5 separate regions of the Homo sapiens genome follow, and all the other regions are linked to region 1. The links are contacts of gene promoters, found by promoter capture Hi-C in blood cells and fetal thymus (Javierre and others, 2016). All regions are on one chromosome and are shown on one strand. The core of a region is centred on a gene start or on the middle of the fragment in contact, and the rest is flanking DNA. Distances in the headings are between cores, read along the strand shown. Region 1 holds the start of UGGT2 (UDP-glucose glycoprotein glucosyltransferase 2). Region 2 has its middle 34 kb from the start of OXGR1. Region 3 has its middle 10 kb from the start of OXGR1. Region 4 holds the start of LINC00359 (long intergenic non-protein coding RNA 359). Region 5 overlaps LINC00359 (long intergenic non-protein coding RNA 359).

Evidence for each region. The method cuts DNA at HindIII sites, captures the fragments that hold promoters and counts their contacts. A CHiCAGO score of 5 or more calls a contact.
Region 2: a fragment that was not itself captured here is called in contact with the fragment with the promoter of UGGT2 in region 1 in 1 of 17 cell types (monocytes); the score reaches 6.3 in monocytes.
Region 3: a fragment that was not itself captured here is called in contact with the fragment with the promoter of UGGT2 in region 1 in 1 of 17 cell types (M1 macrophages); the score reaches 6.2 in M1 macrophages.
Region 4: a contact is called between a fragment that was not itself captured here and the fragment with the promoter of UGGT2 in region 1, in 2 of 17 cell types (M1 macrophages and M2 macrophages). The highest score is 5.3, in M1 macrophages.
Region 5: a contact is called between a fragment that was not itself captured here and the fragment with the promoter of UGGT2 in region 1, in 2 of 17 cell types (M2 macrophages and endothelial precursors). The highest score is 6.7, in M2 macrophages.

The regions. Positions count from the first base shown.
Region 1 is chr13:96,051,989-96,054,816 of GRCh38, reverse strand. It overlaps UGGT2 (UDP-glucose glycoprotein glucosyltransferase 2), which reads left to right and starts at 1,416. Exons shown (of 39, transcript NM_020121.4): 1 at 1,416-1,662. The coding sequence starts at 1,505. RefSeq lists an enhancer at 1,155-1,654. The HindIII fragment of the contact is 2,877 bases long and covers 1-1,903 here.
Region 2 is chr13:97,027,077-97,029,904 of GRCh38, reverse strand. No RefSeq gene overlaps it. Among named protein-coding and RNA genes, the nearest start is that of OXGR1, 34 kb to the right of the region's middle. The HindIII fragment of the contact is 2,836 bases long and covers 76-2,828 here.
Region 3 is chr13:97,003,311-97,006,138 of GRCh38, reverse strand. No RefSeq gene overlaps it. Among named protein-coding and RNA genes, the nearest start is that of OXGR1, 10 kb to the right of the region's middle. The HindIII fragment of the contact is 1,651 bases long and covers 527-2,177 here.
Region 4 is chr13:96,983,908-96,986,735 of GRCh38, reverse strand. OXGR1 (oxoglutarate receptor 1) reads left to right here. Exons shown (of 4, transcript NM_001346194.2): 4 at 1-1,023. LINC00359 (long intergenic non-protein coding RNA 359) reads left to right here and starts at 2,564. Exons shown (of 3, transcript NR_051966.1): 1 at 2,564-2,676. RefSeq lists enhancers at 2,316-2,455, 2,506-2,585, 2,626-2,675. The HindIII fragment of the contact is 1,740 bases long and covers 501-2,240 here.
Region 5 is chr13:96,963,314-96,966,141 of GRCh38, reverse strand. The region is part of intron 1 of LINC00359 (long intergenic non-protein coding RNA 359); the gene reads left to right. Among named protein-coding and RNA genes, the nearest start is that of LINC00359, 19 kb to the left of the region's middle. The HindIII fragment of the contact is 847 bases long and covers 982-1,828 here.

The DNA.
Region 1 (2,828 bases), core at 167-2,666:
GGCCTTTTGTTTGTTTGTTTTTTTGAGACACGGTCTCCCTCTTTCGCCCAGGTTGGAGGGCAGTGGCGCAATCACCGTTTTCTGCAGCCTCTACCTCCTCGGCTTAAGCTACCTTCCCGCCTCGACCTTCCAAAGTGCTGGGACTACAGGCGTGAGCCACCATGCTCAGGCTTATTGGCACTTTTCTGTGCACTTTTAAATGTAATCCTCTAAATCACTCTTCTCCACCTTTCCTGTGCATAGGAATCACCTGTGGTTCCCGTTAAATTGGAGATCTTGATTCATTAGGTCTGGGGCGGGGCCTGAGCTTCTGCATTTCCATTGAGCTCACAGCTGAAGCCTACCCTGGACCACACCTTCCAATGGAAAAGGCTCCAGTGTGATTTCTAGCCACTAGTATTATCTGCGAACTTGGGAGAAATAAAATGCAAGTTCTCGGCCCCCGCAAGGGCTCTACTGAATCCGAAACACTGTGGGGAGGCCCACCACTCTGCAGTGTTTTAACAAGCAAGTGGTTAAAGTTTGAGAGCCACCCGTAAGTCACGGGTTTCCTAACATGATTGGACACTGGAATCACCTGCGGATTTTTTTTTTTTTTTTTTTTTTGAGACGGAGTCTCGCTCTGTTGCCCAGGCTGGAGTGCAGTGGCGGGATCTCGGCTCACTGCAAGCTCCGCCTCCTGGGTTCACGCCATTCTCCTGCCTCAGCCTCCCAAGTAGCTGGGACTACAGGCGCCCGCCACTACGCCCGGCTAATTTTTTGTATTTTTAGTAGAGACGGGGTTTCACCGTTTTAGCCAGGATGGTCTCGATCTCCTGACCTCGTGATCCGCCCGCCTCGGCCTCCCAAAGTGCTGGGATTACAGGCGTGAGCCACCGCGCCCGGCCTGCGGATTTTAACTAATACTACTGATGCCGCATCTCACCCCCCCTCCCGAGATTCTCAGGTACGGGGCGTGGCCTTGGCGGCGGCCTTATAAAAGCTCTCCCAGGTGATTCCAACCTGTAGTAACACTTGAGAACTGCGTGAGGTGGGGACTTCAACTTTAACTGGACTTATTTTCCTCCTATGTAAAAGGTGGACAATATGCAAGTGGTCCTGACTTTGCTTCCAGATTTTGGCAACTCCAGAGCCCTAGTTCGGTCTGGAGAGCCAGCTTCCCGCCCCGTGTCCTAAGGCCTCTGTCCGAGAACCCAAAGTCCTGGGAATGGACCCGCGGGAGCGGACCCGCGGGAGCATCTGTGACGCCGCTCAGCAACCCGGCGCCGCCCCGGCGGCTCCGACGTGGCCCAGTGTCCGGCTGGCGTGGGCTCTCCAGGCCGCACCCACTAAACCGCGCCGGAGCGGGACACGCATGCGCCGGTCTGGACCCGGCACCCAGTAACGGACTCGAGCTCCTCCCACCGGAAGTGGGCAGCCGCGCAGCGGGAAGAGCCGGCCGAAGCGTGGCGGCCACAGACTGTGGGTACCGGGTCCGAGGGACTCGCGCTTTTCTCTCCGTGCCATGGCGCCAGCGAAAGCCACGAACGTGGTGCGGCTGCTACTAGGCTCCACAGCGCTGTGGCTTTCGCAGCTCGGCTCCGGGACGGTCGCCGCGTCCAAGTCGGTGACTGCCCACTTGGCCGCGAAGTGGCCCGAGACCCCGCTGCTGCTGGAGGCAAGGTGGGTGCGGGCCGGGCCCTCGTCCGGGCGGGTGTGGGCGCGCTGCCACCCTCAGCCGCGCTTTCTTCGTGCTCGCAGCGGGTGTCTGGCTCCCACCCGGGTTCTCCAGACGCCCCCGCTCTGGCCCTGAGCATCACCACCTCCTTCCTTCCCGACCCGGGGCGGCTTCTCGGTTCCCGTGCAGCACTCACTTGCAGTTCCTTTCCCCCTCAGTCTTACTTTACCTACGATTTTTAAAGCTTCCCTGCCCTGCTTTAATACGTTGGGATGTATTAGCATTTACGCGTGGCACTTAACGCAAGAGCTTCTACTGGGGTAGGCAGTTCTGTTCAGACAGTGCTTAAAGTACCTAGTTTCGTAATGATGACATCATACCATCAGCTCCTAGGCTTACTATGGGGAGGGCAGCTTCCTGCAAGGTAATATTTTTCCTGTATCTCTTCCAACGGAATTAGTTCATGACCTGTCATTTACTCTGCAGAACAAAACTTGTAGCTATTGCATTTTGCCCTTTAGTATTCTAGTTGAGTAAAATTAGAAAGTTCTTTCTCTTAGCAAAAATGAAGTTTTACACCAATGACTTAATGGCTGTTCACCACAGCAACAGTGTGTGTCCCTAAAAAGAGACTCCATGACTCCACATAAGTTCATGTATTTGATGCTAAAAGTTCTTTTTTTTTTTCATTTCTATAGTTTATTGGGGAACAGGTGGTGTTTGGTTACATGAGTAAGTTCTTTAGTGGTGATTTCTGAGATTTTGGTACACCCATCACCCCATCAGTATATACACTGCACCCAATTTGTAGTCTTTTATCCCTCACTCCCTTCTCAACCTTTCCCCCGAGTCCCCGAAGTCCATTGTGTCAATCTTATGCCTTTGCATCCTCATAGCTTAGTTCCCACATATCAGTGAGAACATACTATATTTGGTTTTCCATTTCTGACTTACTTCACTTAGAATAATAGTCTCTAATCTCATCCAGGTTGCTGTGAATGCCATTAATTGATTCCTTTTTATGGCTGAGTAGTGTTCCATCATATATATGCCACAGTTTATCCACTCGTTGATTGATGGGTATTTGGATTGGTTCCACATTTTTGCACTTGTGAATTGTGCTGCTATAAACATACTTGTGCAACTATCTTTTTCATGACTTCTTTTCCTC
Region 2 (2,828 bases), core at 244-2,743, 980 kb before region 1:
TTTCTCCATAGCAGTGAGAGAATGAACTAATACAGAAATTATTATTTTGTCCTACGGACTACAGAAGTTAAAGCTTTGAGGAAACTCTTCCCAGATGGTGGCTGTGACTCTCTAGGAGGGAAGGAAGATGTTGAGATTTTCAAGTTTATCAAAATGAGCCAAGGATCAAAAGTATCTGAAACACTGCTCTGAAAAATGAAGGATAGGCTGGGTGTGGTGGCTCTTGCCTGTAATCCCAGCACTTTGAGAGCCAGAGATGGGCAGATCACGCAAGGTCAGGCGTTCGAGACCAGCCTTGCCAACACAGTGAAACCCCATTTCTACTAAAAATACAAAAATTAGCCGGGCACGGTGGCATGCCTGTAGTCTCAGGTACTCCCAAGGTTGAGGCAGGGGAACTGCTTGAACCTGGGAGGCGGAGGATGCAGTGAGCCAAGATCACGCCACTGCACTCCAGCCCAGGCAACAGAGCGAGACTCCATCCCCCTCCCCCCCAAAAAAGGATATTATGCCTGGCTTTTACTCCCTGATTTAAAATCTTTATTTGGCTCTCTAGTAGAAAGCAGGTTGGTGGCAGGTCTAGAGAGAATACTTGGACCCTATTCCTATTTTCAAAGTGTGTAAGAAATCACTTAATGTTTCACATTGTTTCCTCTCTGTGATGACCTGTTATGTTTTCAGTATTAAAACTCCTTTATTACAACAGTTTCATTAAACATACTATTACCTCCCTAAAGGCCAAGGCTGTTATAAACATATATTTTTTAATTCCATATTTTTTTTTACCATAAAGGTAATATACATTTAGTATAAACGAATAAATTCAAACATTGATACAGAGAAAAAGGAAAGTTCTTTTTATGTAGAGTGAAGATTAGAGACGAAGTAAAGGTCATGGCTTGGTGGTTAAACACAATCTGACGTGGCCGTCTTATTGGATGGTAATTCCATCAAAAACCGGTGTCAAAATATTCGGCTTCTATGGTAATCACCAGGCCTGCCACTAGAGGGCAGACATGCCTAATTTTGTGATTAAATTTTCTGGAAATGGGATTGAGGCTTTAAGGAGTTTTTTGCAGACCTGACAAGGAAGTAAAACAAAAACAAAACAAAACAACCGCCCTCCTCAGCAATTCTTAAAATATAAAAGAGAGAAAGAAAGGAAAACTGGCTATGTAGCTTTGCTCAGTTCCATTCAAAACACTGGACAGCTACACATTTTTATGTGTATGCAGGTAAGCAAAACATGCTAGCAAAATATGGCCTGTGGCTAGAAATTTCAGGATAAGAGAGAGAGTAGAAATGCTTTTAAGAATCTCCCAGAGGCCAAATGACCAAGAAGGTAGAAAGTCAGGGTAGATGCTATGTCTCTCTCCCACCCATAAATGTGGATAGGGTTCTAAAAATTGAGAGATTTCCGGCCGAGCGCGGTGGCTCACGCCTGTAATCCCAACACTTTGGGAGGCCGAGGAGGGCGGATCACGAGGTCAGGAGATCGAGACCATCCTGGCTAACACGGTGAAACCCCGTCTCTACTAAAAATACAAAAAATTAGCCGGGCGTGGTGGCTGGCGCCTGCAGTCCCAGCTACTCGGGAGGCTGAGGCAGGAGAATGGCTTGAACCTGGGAGGTGGAGCTTGCAGTAAGCAGAGATCGTGCCACTGCACTCCAGGCTGGGCAACAGAGCGAGACTTGTCTCAAAAAAAAAAAAAAAAAAAAAAAAAAAAAAAAAAAAAAAAAAAAAAAGATTAACCAAACTGATAGATAGTACTCTTTAAGTGAAAGGAGAGAAAACAAAAATTAGAAATATGAAGAATGAAAGAGCATATCACTCCAGTGATTGAAAGGAAAATAAAGAAATAATATAAATAACTTTATGCCAATAAATTTAAAAACTCAAATGAAAAATAAAACCTCCCAAACCTGATACAAAATAAGCAGAAAATGTTATTAAGGAGATTGAATTTGCTATCAAAATCCTTCCCTCAAAGAAAATGTCAGGTCCATATAATTTCACCTGTGAATTCTATCAAACACTTAAAGAAGAAATAATAGTAACTGTACACAAATTATTTTGGAAAGCAGAAGAGGAAGAAGGAATATTTTCAACTCATTTAATGAGGCCAGTACCATCCAGATATCAAAATATAAAGAACACACAAACAACAACAAATAAACCTTGCAAGAAAAGAAAATTATAGGTTAATATTACTCAAGAACATACAAGTGAAAATCCTTAACAAAATATTAGCAAATTGAATCAGTCAATATAAAAGAAGAAATAATACATCATGGGGTTCATTCCAGGAATGAAATGTTAGGATAACATTTGAAAATAGATGCTATTCAGCATGTTAACAGAATAAAGATGAAAATTCATATGATTCTGAGTTCAGTAGATGCAGAAAAAGAATTTGACAAACTCTGGCTCCAATTTGTGATTAAAACTCCTACAAATGAGGAATAGAATAATAACCCCATCTCCATTTTTGGTTCTGTGGAGATGGCTGAGGGCTCCCATGAGTCACACATGCTTGAATCTCTTCAACCAGCCCTGATGTGACTATATGCTCTGATCTTTGCATCCTTCTGAGGCACTAGCAAAAGGTTGTCTAGCCAAACTCTTGGTTTCTCCTCCAGAGTGCACTTTCTGATGGTAAATCTCCTAATTTTAGAACTTTTGCAATCTGCATAAACATAATTTTTCAAATCACTGAGTGTTGGTTTTATTTCACTTACTAGTTGTTCCCTCGATTTATTTCTCTCCTTTTGCAGTTTACTGTAAGCAGGAAGAAGAAAGCAGGTCATTTCCTGAGCATGTTGCTGGG
Region 3 (2,828 bases), core at 103-2,602, 950 kb before region 1:
CACTGGGCTTGCTGAGCTGTAGGCACCACGTCTTTGGTATCTGGCTACATGTGGAGCATAGGTCACTAACAGAGAGAGAGAGACTGACAGCAACAGTAGAGGCAAGCCTAGACTGGCCTTTGTTTATCCTTGCACACATGTGTGGCTGGGGTCAGTCCACAAGGGCAAGGAGAGGAGGGATGAACACTACTACTCCAACCTTGGAACACAGCACACTATGCTCCTGAATGCCACAGACCTGTCTAATTTTCATTCCTTGCTCCCAGGAAAATGGCTGAGGGGTAAGAGCTTGTTTCCTAAGCTCTCCATAGAACACAAAAAGACTCATGTGGCAGGAATGCAGCTCACTAGAGAAACATGTACACATTACCCATGATTATTTCTACTGATATGCAGCAAGATCATTATTTGAAGAAAGTGAAAGAAGTAAGGAGTGGTTGTCAACTGGCCTGTTATGTCTGAGAACAGATTATTTGCAAAGTCCTAGTATACCCCTGGTTTCCAGTAATATAATAAAATGAAAGCTTGAATTGTACACACAGCCAGCTTAAAAAAATGTCAGTTGCAAATAGATAATTTGCTATTTCAAAGCCCTCAGGGAGGGAAACTGTTATTTTTTACTCCTCATTTTTTTCTCCCTCTCTTTTTCCTGCACCCCCCAACCATGTGTGTGTGTGTATGTGTGTGTGTGTGTGTACACAATGCTGTGGAATGACCACATGGCTCCTTTTGGGTAAATTTGCAAAGATCTTCTCAATTCCCCTTTTGTCTCTTAAGACATAATTATTTATAATTTGTCCCCCTGTGGATGGAGAGCCATCCAGTGTACACAGAGCCCACCTGGGATGAAAGTGTCTAAGAAATTACACATGTACAAATGCAATGTCCAAAATATATCATCACTCAGGGCTCTGAGCTAGAATGACCCAGAATGAAGAAAGGATGATGGCTGTGCCACCTAAGACTAAAGGAGTTGAGATGCTTGTGTGCATGCAGTCAATCAGAGAAAAAACTGCAACAGAAGATGGCAACCATCCAGCTCATTCATAACTTACAGAATCAGTCTGTGGCATCCAACGGGGAACCGGAGATAACAGAAGCCATCTGGATGACTTCAATAAAAATAAACCAATATTTGATGTCTCTTGTCAGCTATAAACATAAGAAATAGGGACTTAAATGCTTCCTTTTAATTGATACTTCTGAAAATGTTCTTAACTTTGCTAACTTTTCCAGGGTTGCACCTGAAGACAGTCAAACAAATGACTTCCTAACTGAAGGCCAGGTCTGACTTCCTGGGCGTGCTACCCGAGCAGTATCCCAGCGTCCCACGCTTAACAGGGTCCCTCATTTGGTTTGATGTTCTGTTGTGGCTGTCTTGAAATTCCTAAGCATGTTATCTTCGAGCTTGTGTTTTGTAAGTGAAATGTGACAGGACAATGGAGCATGTGAGTCACAGAGGAGTTATGTGTAATATGCATGTTCACCATCATTCCTTGCAGCCCTGTTTACAAATAGCATTCACGATGCCCAGTGAGCAGATAATTCTGGTGGACCCACAAGGCCATAGAGTTCAGCGATACTTAAAGCAAGTGCTGGGTGAGTGTGTTAGGTCTACATCTGGGTAAAAGGGGCATTGACAGTCTCCATAGGTCCTGCTTTCTGTCTGAACCAACACTTGCCTAACATGCAGAAAGAAGGTAAGGGCATCCTAAGAAACATTAATGTGCAAAAACTCTGTCCCCTCTTGTCTTGTGTTACTTCCCTGAATAAACCAATGGCTTATACTGACAATGACGCAGAATTAGGGAAGGATAGGGCAATCCATAGTTCATCTTCCTTTCAGTCTTTCTGACTCATCAGTAAGCCAAAGAGAGAGACAGCATTGTTAGAGTATGTGTGTATGAAAAAGTGAGTGTTTCCATTATCCTGGTAAAAACGGAATACACATACATATGTGAGCTTTGAAAGTCAACTTGCATCATTCTGAAGATGCTTCATACTAGTTAAATACTCTTGTACTTGCATTTAAAACTGGCATTGCGCTATATCAACAGTAAATTTCATGCAAATACTTTAAAATTTTAATTTTTCTTTAACTTAGAATGATATTACCTACCAAATAAAAAACCCCACCATGGCAGGTCAAGAGAAAGACTGGAAAAAAAAGAAAAGCTTTATTTTAACACCTGTAAAGGAAGTTTTCTCCTGCTTTTTAAACTAAGATCCTCAAATTTTCAACACTAAGACCTGTGAATTATATAGCTGGCCCTGCTCAAGGTCTAAATAAGTGCATAGGACTATGGTGGAAAGAACTGTGTTAAGTGCACACTCCAGGTAATAATGACCAGAGAGAACACTGTCCTGGGGCTCAGCTCTCCCAACAGGAAAGTGACTGAAGCCCAAAGCCACTGGGTACAGAACATGATTTAAAAAACAAGACTTCCCTTGAGCTGTTCTTTTATCATAATTGGCCTGGAAGGTTGGTTTTCAGGAGGAAAGTCTTCCAGCACTTCCATCTCTACACTGTCTTTACACATTCTCAAACTCACTGCTATCCACCCAAATGGAAATCACTGGGTTACAACCACAGAGATGAAAAAATTTCAGGTTAATGTAAAGAAGTCATGAAAGAACAGAGTGAGAATATTTTCTTTTCAAATAAATATGTAATAAAATAACAAAATATGGATGTATTTCTTCAAAGAATATAACTCTGAGATCATAATGACCTTATTTGCCTTTAGTTAAACGTAAAATAAAACAGCTCAGATGTAAAGTTTCAAAGGACTTCTGAAACCACAGGATGAGTGATCAGTCTCCTTTGA
Region 4 (2,828 bases), core at 121-2,620, 930 kb before region 1:
TTACTTAACCAAAAACAAATACTTGCTGATACTTTACCTAGCATCCTAAGATGTTCAGGATGTCTCCCTCAATGGAACTCCTGGTAAATACTGTGTATTCAAGTAATCATGTGCCAAAGCCAGGGCAGAGCTTCTAGTTCTTTGCAATCCCTTTATTGAGCTCCTCCACTGGGGAGATATAAGAATGGGATGCATGTATATCAGCAAAGTATTCAGACATAGTATTACAAGCTATTGGAACTCAGAGGCATCTTAGAGAACATCTGTTCCCACCAACTTACTATATATACACGGAAACCAATTTCTTACCCTTGCCCTAGATTGCTCAGTAAATTTGTGCCAAGATAGGAGAAAACCAATCTTTTCACTCATCATTTCATGCTTCTCTGCACTCTGGGCCTATTTGTATTGAACCATTAGACAATTCAAACCACTACTTGTATCTTTCTTAATATTTATTTTTTACATCTCAGAGCTCTACAATTTGTTTCCTTCAAGCTTAACTTTGAGATTATAAAACTGGGTTTAGCCAGTTCTGTATATTACTTCAAGCCAGTAAGATACCCTTGAAATAATCCAAGGACGTCCATGCAAATAGTTGAAATTAGTACCTGCAATATATTTGGAGTATTATGTCTTTATTGTTGTTAAAAAGTTTTTATTGAATGTATGAAAATTATCAAATTGTATTCATCATTATTAACATGTCCTGGGGAAGGAAGGGAAACTTTCTAGGACAGAAGTCACTTTCAGATGTCATGTATGTATTGGGTGTTCAATCATATCTAACACTGTTTTGATTTTTGTGGGAAAATATTCCAGGAAACGCTAATTCTCTTTAGACTCCTTGTTCTTTTATGACTACAATGAACATATGTCTATGTGATAGCTAAAGATATTTTTGAATTGTATGTGTGCTTAATTATCGGTAAGTATAAATATTTGAGAAAACACATGGTCTGGATATTTAAAACCCTCATAAACATGTTGGTACAGTTAATAAACTTATTTATAATTATGTAATAGGCTGTTTGGTCATATTTTTCTGTGAAAATGCAGTTTTATCACTATTATATTTACATGAAACTTATTTGCTCTATGGTTAGGAACAAAAATAAGTTAAGAATCAATAATATTATAGAATAAGGCAGAAATAGTTGACTTACACAGAGGGAAGGGTACCATAGAAATTCTTCCTGATGTTCCAGTTCTTCTAGGACATGACATCTGACTTAGACTTAAGTGAGGATATTCATCAGGAACCTCTTCAGAGCAAGTTGAGAGAAGGAAGAGCAAGCCGATGGATCTGAACATGAAGTTTTCTGGACAATGGTGCTTTTTGCAATCCCTACCTTCTGAGCCATCTTCTTCTGAGCCTTTCTATAACATGTGGAATAAGCTATTTCACTAGAGGACCCCAATTTGCTCATCTGCCCTGGCTGTACAGCATCGAGAAGTATTCAGAGGTCCACCTGGAACTGCTAGCTCTTTTTCTTTTCCCCGATGCCTAGCCCAGCCCCTGGGCTATCACTAAAGTGCAGACAGACTTGCCTGTATTCCACTGCTGTCGTTATTCTAGCCTTGGGCACAAACCCCTTTTCTTTCTCTCCTCATCTTTATTCCTTCTTATTCCAAAGAGTTGGCAGGGTGCAGTGGCTCACGCCTGTAATCTCAACACTTTGGGAGGCCGAGGCGGGCGGATCACGAGGTCTGGAGATGGAGACCATCCTGGCTAACATGGTGAAACCCTGTCTCAAAAAATTACAAAAAATTAGCCGGGCGTGGTGGCGGGCGCTGGTAGTCCCAGCTACTCAGGAGACTGAGGCAGGAGAATGGCGTAAACCGGGGAGGCGGAGCTTGCAGTGAGCCGAGATGGCGCCACTGCACTCCAGGCTGAGCGACAGAGCGAGACTCCGTCTCAAAAAAAAAAAAAAAAAAAAGAGTTTACCCACCAGAGAAAAGCCACTTCAACATCCTTCATGTCTTTCTCAACTCATCTGTGTAGCTTCTTTTATTTTTTACCTTCTTCCTACCAATGTACAGAAAAACAAATCATCCTTCTGGCAGGAATTCTTGCACTTTATCTCTGGTCTTTATTTTGCTCTCTTAGGGACCTTGCTCCAACACTTAATCTCACTTTCTCACGTTTTTAATATTTTTATTACCCTGGATAATTGACCTCAGCTTGGAAGCATGCATAATTTTCCATTATCCGAAAAATGCCTCCCCTTGATTAAGCTTTTATGTCGTTCTGTTACCTAATCTGCTTCCCACAGCTGTGGGTTGGGTGCAGATGACAGTCTGCCCTCTAGGGTTCTTCCGATAGAACAGAATCACAGAGATCCAAGCTAAATTTAATTCAAAGGATGAGTTTTATTTTACAAAGTTAAGAGTTCTGGGTTATTTGTGCTGAAGGAGGCAGTTTTGAACTGAGGCCAAAAAAAGGGATTGATGATATTTCCCAGGCTAGAATGGGAACTGTGTGACCTTGCTGCATACAACCAGGCCTAGGCAGAGGAAGACAGAATGAGAACAAAAGAGCAGAGCTCTGACTGTGTCCGCCAGGGCACAGCTACTCAGGTCTACTCGCTGTGTGAGAACCGAAAGCGCAAGTCAGGCTCACTGCACCTGCATATGGGGAAGCCAGAAAAACCTGTTCCAAACTTCTGAGACATGGTAATCCCTTGCGTTATTTGTAACTCTTTATTGTGGACATTTTCAAACAGTCACAAAATTTAAAAAGGAGCCAAATGGCCTCATGTAACCCATGTCTTAATTTCATCAATAGCCAACATCCCACCCTTCAGGTTTTATCTCTCTCTTCCCAC
Region 5 (2,828 bases), core at 156-2,655, 910 kb before region 1:
AGTAGCACAGAAGACATAGGTAAGTTAGTGTCAATATTATTTATCTTTAATTGGGTTAATAGATCACAAGTGTTTATTGTCTTAATAAACAAGCAAAGAAATAAATTAGGCAAAGGAAGACTTTGCATAGACCAGTGATGAGAATCTGTCATGAACCAAGGAGTATTATTAATCTAATTCTGTTTACCTGAGAGTTTTAAAAGATGAATAAATACATAAATGAATGAATAAATAAATATCAATTAACCCAAATGAAATCAAGAAAGAGGAGGGAAACAGAAGCATAAGAAACAAACAGAAGCCATAAAATAAGATAGAAGAATAAATACAAATATGTCAGTAATCACAATAAATGTAAAAACACTAAATGTTCCAGTTAAAAAATAAAGACTTTCAGACTACACCAAAAGTAGTATAATGTGTGCTCTTTTAAAGAGACAAATATAGAGTATAGACACATTGGTAGATTTTTGTCTGTAGATTTTAAGACACATTTAAAACAACTTACTAACTTATGAATAAATTTAAAAAATGGAACAGAGCTATAAGAAAGAAAGAAATAGAATTAGAAATTTCAGATATTCCAGTTAAGAAACACTAAGTCTATATGAACATGCAAGTAACTTCTATCAAAGATGCAAAAAGAGTCAAATTTCAGTTTTCCATAAAATATTATGAATGGAAACATGGATAATAGGCTAGCTTTTAACAAAAGCTGGAAAAAGAACAGTAGAAGGAAGAAAAACTTACGAGTTTTTATTGTATTACATACAATAAAATAAACACATTTTTAGGCACTGATGTAAAAAGTCCTAAAAAAGAAAAAAAGAAAAACTAAATCAATAATGCATTTTTAGCAGAAAACAATACAACATACCTAAAATGAGTTTTCAATTTCAGGAATGTAAGATTGGTTAAATATTAAAATCAATTTATGTAATTCCCCTTATTCATGAACTAAACAAGAAAACAATATAAGCTTCTTAATAAATAGGAAAATATTAATAAATTTGACATACACATTTGATACAAACTCTTAGCAAACTAGAAATAGAAGAGAACCTCCTTAGCCTACCTATCTACCAAGGAACCTCTAATAAATATAGTACTTAATTGTAAATCATCAACAGCCTTTCCTTAATATCAGAAACAAAATGACGATGTTCACTATTGTTATTTTTATTCAATGTTGTACAGAATTCCCTATCTTGGGGTCAGCAAACTGTGGCCCGTTAACCCAATCTAGTTTACTCTCTGTTGTTATATGGCCCACGAACTAAATGATTTTTTCATTTTTAAATGGTTGGAAAACAATCAAAAGAATATTTTTGACACATGAAAATTATACAACATTTAAATTTAACTGTCCATCAGTGATGTTTTATTTCCTTACGTATCATCTATTTTGATACTATAACTACAGACTTGTATACCTGCAACAGATACTGTATGGACCACAAAGCCTATCAGGCCCCTTACAGGAAGAGCTTGAAGACCATTGCTTTCGTTGGCAGAAAGACAACAAATTAATTAGTTAAAAAGTTAGTTTTGCTTTGGTATAGTTTACATACAATAAAATTAATCAACTTTAAATGTACCATTAATTGTGTTTTGAAAAATATACACAGCTGTGTAGTCAGCACCACAATCATGATATAGAACATTTTTTATCAGTCTAAAAAGTTCTACGTGCTCTTTTTCTGTGAGTTCTCTTCCCTCACATCCAGTCCCTGAGGATCTCTGATCTGTTCTCTTCATTTTCTAAAATTTTCTATAATGGTATACTGTGTCATCTTGTTTTTGAACTTCTTCCACTTAGCATAAAGCTTTAGAGATTTGTCAATTTTTTTTTTTTTTTGCTGTGTCAGTGATTCTTTCCTTTTTGTTGATGATTAGTATTCCATTTGTGCAGAAATGACTGAATTTATTTATACATTTCACCATATGAAGGGAACAGGTAGTTTCCACTTTTTGGCTGTTATACATAAATCTTCTATAAATATTTGAGTGCAAATCTTTGTGTGACTATATATTTTCCTTAGGGTAAATACCTAGAGATAAAATTGCTGGTTCACATGGTAAAGGTGTGTTTAGTTTTATTAGAAGCTGCCAAACTGCTTTCCAAGGTGGCTGTGCAATTTTCCATTCTCAACAGCAATGAATAAGCATTCTAGTTGCTTCATTCCTTTGCCAGCAGGTGGTACTGTAATTTTTTTTAAATGTTGCCATTCCAGTGGGTGTGTAGTGATAGCACGTTGTTGTAATTTGCATTTACCTGATGACTAAAAATGCTGCATCTTTTTTATATGCACATTGGCAATTTGTGTATCTTCTTTTGTAAAGTTTGCCTAATTATAAAGGGGTTATCTGTCTTTTATTATTGAATCTTAAGTATTCTTTATATATTATGGATATAAGTCTTTTATTAGATATATAGTTTGCAAATATTTCCTCCCAGTTTGTAACTTGATATTTCATTTGTCTAAAAATGTCTTTTAAAGAGCAAAAGGTTTTAATTTTGATAAAGTTCAGTTGATAGTATAGTTTGTGCTTTTTCTTCCCTGTAAGAAATCTCTTTGCCTAGTCAATGGTCACAAATATTTTCCACTGTTTTCTTCTAGAAATCTTACAGTTTTAGCTTTTACATTTAATTACATTTAATCAGCTCTTACATTTAATTATCGATTTTGGGTTGATTTTTTGCATGGTGTGAGGTAAGTGTCAAAGGCCCTTATTTGGCATATGGATATCAAATTGTTACCGCAACAATTTACATTATTTGTTTATCACTGAATTACCTAGTCATTTTTGTGAAAACTTAATGGTCT